Linked DNA regions of Homo sapiens: region 1 is linked to region 2. Evidence: promoter capture Hi-C in 16 types of primary human blood cells and fetal thymus (Javierre and others, 2016). All regions are on one chromosome and are shown on one strand. Each heading gives the region's core, a stretch centred on a gene start or on the middle of the fragment in contact. The rest is flanking DNA. Distances are from core to core; before and after follow the strand shown. Region 1 holds the start of KLHL28 (kelch like family member 28). Region 2 holds the start of HECTD1 (HECT domain E3 ubiquitin protein ligase 1).

Region 1 (2,906 bases), core at 94-2,593, about 14 Mb before region 2:
CTTGGCCAAGTCGCTCCCCAATTTGTTGAAGTGCGGAGAAAGCTGTCTCAGATTCTTCTTCTGTCTCCTGATCACCAAGCTTTCGGGCTAGGGATATTATCACCTCGGTGAGATCCAGACCAAGCAACAAGTCCTCAGTAGTAAGCAAGATGGGAAGCAGTAGTGCTGTGGAAGCTCTAAGTCGGGCATCGGTACTTTCCAGTCCTTGTTGTATAAGCGTTCTCAGCACCTCTCCAGGACTACGTTTCAGACATATATGAAGGATCTGCAGCGCATCTTTCCGCAGGGCTGGATTCTCTTCCCGTAACGAGACAACTAGTTGAGGCAAAAGTGCTAAGCTAAAGGCCTCTTCAAGCTGGCCTGCCTCCCCCTGACCCCGGAGAACGTCCGAGAGAAGTTGCAAGCAGAGCCGCTTCTCATCACTACCTCCTTCCACAAGCACTCGGCCCAGTGCCCGATACAAAGCTTCCTTGCGTCGGGGGAAGCCAAGTCGACCGCCCCGCCGCGGCAAAGCAGCTTGCAAAGCCTGGAAGGCCTCAGAAGGATCCCGGGCAGTGCGGAGGAGTTGAAGGAGCCGAGTGTCCTCTTCATCTCCCCCTGACAAACCGCCTCCAGACTCAGACCAGCTGCTTGAGACTGCCTCCGAGGGCATCAAGAGGGCCGAGGCCAGAGGCGAAGTTGTAGTGGGGCAGGAACCGTGGTCCCCCGCAGCTCCACGGAAGTAGTAGTTTTTCTCTCCTCTCATAATGCCCCCAACTCGACTATCATCGGTCTCTGGGGCGGAAGGACGACTGCGGCTCTGGAGCCGATAGGTAGAGAGGACTGGAAAGGGCGGCAGCAGAAGCAGCGCGGAGGGGGCAGCCGCCATGCAGGGTTGTCAGGTGGTGGTGGTTGGAAGAAACCATTGCCGTCTCCAAAGGGCTCGATGGAGCCCAGACTTCCAGATCCTCTCCAAGCCCCAAGCTGCAGAAGAGGCAAAAGAACAGCTTCAGCCTGCCGCCAGGCCGCCCCCAACTCCGGGAGGCAGCCTCTGGCAAAATGGCCCCCGTCTGAGCCCTAGACCCCACAGCTGCCACCGGGCGTAACCAAGGGCACCACGTGACCAAACCGATTGCTTCCATGGTGATGTACCCAGCGCGGACCTCTTGACCCGGAAATCCACTTGCCGTGATGAATGCTGGGTTATGTAGTCCACGTCAGGTGTTGAGACTAGGCCAAAGTCTCCTGGAAGAGGAAGTCAGAACGTTGTAAACGCAGCTACAGCGGAGAAGGGAGGAGGGGTGAAGCCATTTGACGGATGTGACGCTTTCCTTGCTCTGGGCGGAAGTTGCCCGCCCCACCCGTAAGAGTTAGGGTTTGACCGGAGCTAGTGAGGATCCAGCCCAGGCTCCAGTTGTCCGCGGTTCCTCCTCCTGTCGCTGCCCGTGTGATTACTGAGACTCAGGTATTTTCCTTTTGCTGTCCTCCAGCGGTGCAGGCTTTGGCAGTGTTTTGCCCGAATGCCACTGGTGCTAGAGTAAGAGGCAAAGGACTGAGCGGAGCAGGTGGAAAGAGAGGCGACATCTTCTTGTGCAGGGCTCGTCACCCTTGTAAACGCGTTACTCTCTACCACCCTGAGTAACTGCGATCCTTTCCTCTTGCCATCTGCTTATCAGGACAGAAGATCTGGACCACGGCCAAGCTCACAAATCGGGTATTTTTTTTCAATTCCTGGTCTTTGGGGCCTTTATTCGCCTCCCCCTTCTCCTTTTGTCGACTTCTCTTAACCCTCCGGCCGCAGAGGGTTAATTTTTTTTTGTTTTTGTTTGTTTGTTTTTGGCAACGTTTCCTTACCCTCATCACTTTGCGTTTTCTTTACAACGTACATAATATGGAAATAGGTCTGTTTTTTTCCCCCTGTAGCTAACCGCCTCTCCCTTAGACGTTATCAAAATCTTTCCTTCTAATGCAGTTCCTCTGTGGGACTCTCCCCTAACCTCCGCCCCCTCCGTCTGCCGCCCTAGCCTCCCTGCAGGATCCTCAAGCGTCTCTGCAGCCTTTCAGTCTCCTAGAGACAGAGATTGCGAAGACAATTTCACTTGCGGTGGAAGTTCTTGGCATCATGGTTCTAAGAGAATTCTGCCTTGTGGATTTAGGAATGATAGTAGACATTTATTTATTTTAGGCGAACTGAGAATTTTGTGTGCATTTTCTCCTCATAAGTGATACTTAAACGGACACAGTGGAAGAGCTGGAGTGTCTAGTGTGAGCCTGAATGCTTTGGAGTGTGGAAGAGATATTTTTTTTTTTTGAAGGAATAATACTATTACTTTTGAATGACTCGTGCGAAAAGTCTAAGTTATCATTTGAAGACCCAAATTTATGCACTTCAAATGCAAGTATTCCTACCCTGCTCTGTACCAGGTGGGATTTCTCTTAAATACTTTTTAAAGTCTTGGAATAAATGAGTCACATATGCCAAACAGCTTTATAAATAATGCTCCCAGCTGATGCAAGTGCAAAAATAATTTCTGGATTTTTGCCTTAAAGTACGATTTGAATATCAGTTTTGTTTTGTTTTGTTTTTGGGGGGGTGGGGGTGGGGAATAGACTATAATGTAAATGAGGCTGTGTAAATATACATCCTATGTTTTGGTTTAAATTCTAGGCTGTTACTTTGGTTTTAATGAGCCATTTTCGTGTTTAAATGAATCTGCCTAAATTAGGTTTAGCTAGCATGTTTCATTTTAGGGACAGGTTAAAGACAGGGAGGTGAAAAACAAGAAATGATTGTAGCAGTTGTCAATGAGAAAGTGTCTGGTTCTCACAGTTCCAACCTAAGAAGCTCAAATGTGTAGACTTCTAGTCATGTATTGCCCAGACTTGAGGAACCCAGTTCAAACTAACCTAGACAATGATGTACACAT
Region 2 (2,917 bases), core at 11-2,510:
ACCTAAACGGACCATTACCTGCGACAACGGGACATGCGCGGATAGCTATCTGAAGTACAAATTTGTCATTTCCAAAATACTGGTTCTTTTTCTAAAGAAGTAGTAAAAAAGAAAGAAAAAAAAGAACCAGTATTTTGGAAATGACAAATTTGCTTAGTCGCCCAGGCTGGAGTGAGGTGGCATTATCAAAGCTCACTGCAGCCTCAATTTCTTGGGCTCGAGGGATCATCCCATCTCAACCGCTCCAGTAGCTGGGACCATAGGTGTGCGTCACCGCATCTGGGTAATTATTTTTTAAATTTTAATTTTTTTGCAGAGACCAGGTCTATGTTGCTCAGGCTGGTCTCGAACTCCGGGCCTCAAGAGAGTAAAATCATAAAGTGCTGGGATTACAGGAAACGCAGCGGACCCAAATTCTGTTCTTTACTCATACCTAGCAGCTCCTCTGGTTGCCTGAGGGACCATGTCTCAAACACTATCATGTCGTATTAATTTTTCTTTTTGTTTAAAAGCTGAAAGTGAGAGTACAGTAGGACGTCTCCGGGCTCCAACTACGTCCTATAAGCATGCATCCTTTATTCTGAATGCGTGTGAAATAAAGTTTGAAAAGAATAACCACAGACATACTTGTGACCACAAGCCACAAGAAACGTAGTCAAAAGTGCACTCTCAGTGCTGCTGCCGACCGGGCACGGCGCTGGGCCTGCATTTGCGCTTTCCTGGAGCCTCAGTGTCTCATCTGTACAACGTTGATAATCGTCGGCAGCACCTCTTTCCCAGGGTTGCTCTGAAGGGTTTTCTTTGGGGTGAACCGCCAGGCGGTCGGCCTCCCAGGAGCGGGGGGAGACGCCTTCCTTACGCGACGCACTTCCGTGCGCGAGGAGGGAAGATCGTGGCTGAGTGCGGGTGGCCTGGGCGGAAGGCTCAGCGGGGACAGGTTGGGCCGCAGCTTTGCTGTGCTGTGCCGTGCGACGCCCTCCGCAGGAGCGCGCAAAGTGTTAGCCACGGCGCCAAGCAAGCTGGACGTGCGTGCATGAGCGCGCTCGGACTGACAGGGAAGCGAAAAGGGGGCCAGGGCGCACCATAGAAAAGCCGCGGCAGAAACGTACGACACAGCCCGAGGCGGCGGGGGCGAGAGCTCCGGGGCAGGGACGGCGACGCGGCGTACCCGGTTTGGCGCCCCTGCGCGGCGGTCGGCCGTCCCGCAGCGCCCCAGGTGGCCGCCGGCGGGGTCGCCGCCGGGGGAGTGGATTTGCTCCGCCTCCGCCGGGCTCGGCTGCCCTCGGCAGCTTCCCCGCCTGGCTCTCCCTCGACCCTCCTCCCCTCCCCCTCCCGGTTCGCGATGGACTGGGCCTCCCCGCCGCGCCGCCGCCGCCGTCGCCCGCAGCACCGCGCGGGCCTCTGAGTTGCAGGGCCTGAGGAGCCGCGTGCTGGGGACTGGACGTCCGCTGGCTGCTGCCGCACGCGAGAACCTCTCGCTTCCCTGTCACCAGGTCCTCGCGGAGGAAGGGGAGGGACGAGGCGCGGCTTTTCCTGTGCCGCCTGCCCGGTTCGACCTGCGCGGCCTGCGGCTTCTTGGGAACTCTAGGGCCGCGGCCGGGCCTGGCTCTGCCGGCGGCCTGTTGGGAGCTGGATCGGAGCGGTTTGGAACGACAAGCCCGAGTAAGAGCCTGCGGGAAGGGGAGGCGGGAGCGCCTCGGACCGTCGGAAGGGCCCTGCGTGGGGGCGCGGATCCCGGACGCCCGGCGAGTGGCGGAAAGCGAGACCCCGGCGCCGAGTGAGGTCGGCCAGGCTGCTGCCGACTTCCCCGCTGGCCCCTTTGTTCCCCTCCCGGGGCCCTGCCGGCGGCGGGGCCCGGTTGCCCGCGCCAGAGCCTCAGGCCGGCTCCTTTTGCCCTTGAGAAGGGTTCGCTGCCAGGCCTTCGAGTTCCGGGCGCAGCTCCCGGGAGAGCCGGCGCCCTGCCTGGCCCGGCGGCCTCCTCTCGGGCACGAAGGCTTGCTGCTGCTTCTCCAGAACTTCCCTTCCTCGTAGACACAGGTAGTTAACTTAGCGGGGTTTGGTGCTGGGGAACCACAGCGCGGGGGCCAGCGCCTCTCAGCGCCCGGCTCGGCCGGGCCCCGGGTGTGGGGTCAACCCCGCTGGTCGCCGCCGTTGGGTGCCCACCGCGCCCCGCCGCCGGCTTCCCACACTTGCGGCTGCGTTACGTGGGACCCAAAGCTGTCCTCCAGTCAGGGCGCTTACGGGGCGCTTTTGTAATGACTTACCTGTTGGGGTTGCTTCTCGGTTTTGTTTTTGTTTTTTTAACCAACTGCCCTATCTTGTGAAGCTGGGGAAAGAGGGCCCTAGGTTGGCCTACATTCGTTCGGATCCGTAACCTGCTGGTCCATTGCATTTACTTTTAGCCTTTCCTTTTTTAATTTTTTTATTTTTTTAACTTTTAAGAATAGTTGCCAAGACTGCCAAAATTCCTAACCAACTCTTTATTCATAGATAAATCTTGTATATAATTGTCGTTTGTATTTGGATATCTTTAAAATAGAAGTAAATTGAGAAGTCAGCAGAATATGTGAAATTGGAGGTAATTTTGAAGGAGAAACAATTTGGAGGGGGATTGGATCAAGGTGTTTAGAGTTTCCTCAAAATACTGAATCTAACCCTTATCTGAAGATCAGTTTTGGGTAGAGAAGGAGGGGGATGAAGTTTGCTGGAAAAAACAGAACCTTTAGTTAGGTGTTCTTTGCCTTTTGGCATAGACTTTAGTGATAGCAGTAGTGGGACCTGAAGCTTGACTGACTGTCTTTGACACAGACAGCTCTGGTTTCTAGTTAAGCAGCAACCTAATCAGCTTATATACTCTTGTGCAAAACTGGTTTTCATTTGGTATGATATCTGTACGTTAAACCTGGCGGATAAGGAA

The links. Contacts are between HindIII fragments. The CHiCAGO score rates a contact against its expected background, and 5 or more counts as called.
Region 1: the fragment with the promoter of KLHL28 here is called in contact with the fragment with the promoter of HECTD1 in region 2 in 2 of 17 cell types (non-activated CD4 T cells and naive CD8 T cells); the score reaches 6.2 in non-activated CD4 T cells.

Annotation. Positions count from the first base shown.
Region 1 is chr14:44,960,384-44,963,289 of GRCh38, reverse strand. KLHL28 (kelch like family member 28) reads left to right here and starts at 1,343. Exons shown (of 5, transcript NM_017658.5): 1 at 1,343-1,444. It overlaps TOGARAM1 (TOG array regulator of axonemal microtubules 1), which reads right to left and starts at 1,100. Exons shown (of 20, transcript NM_001308120.2): 1 at 1-1,100. The coding sequence starts at 868. RefSeq lists enhancers at 643-1,157, 807-1,616, 1,158-1,672, 2,187-2,276. The HindIII fragment of the contact is 5,188 bases long and covers 468-2,906 here.
Region 2 is chr14:31,206,136-31,209,052 of GRCh38, reverse strand. It overlaps HECTD1 (HECT domain E3 ubiquitin protein ligase 1), which reads left to right and starts at 1,260. Exons shown (of 43, transcript NM_015382.4): 1 at 1,260-2,037. RefSeq lists enhancers at 319-830, 684-853, 831-1,342, 1,855-2,368 and silencers at 1,034-1,373, 1,674-1,883, 2,004-2,213. The HindIII fragment of the contact is 4,913 bases long and covers 1-2,786 here.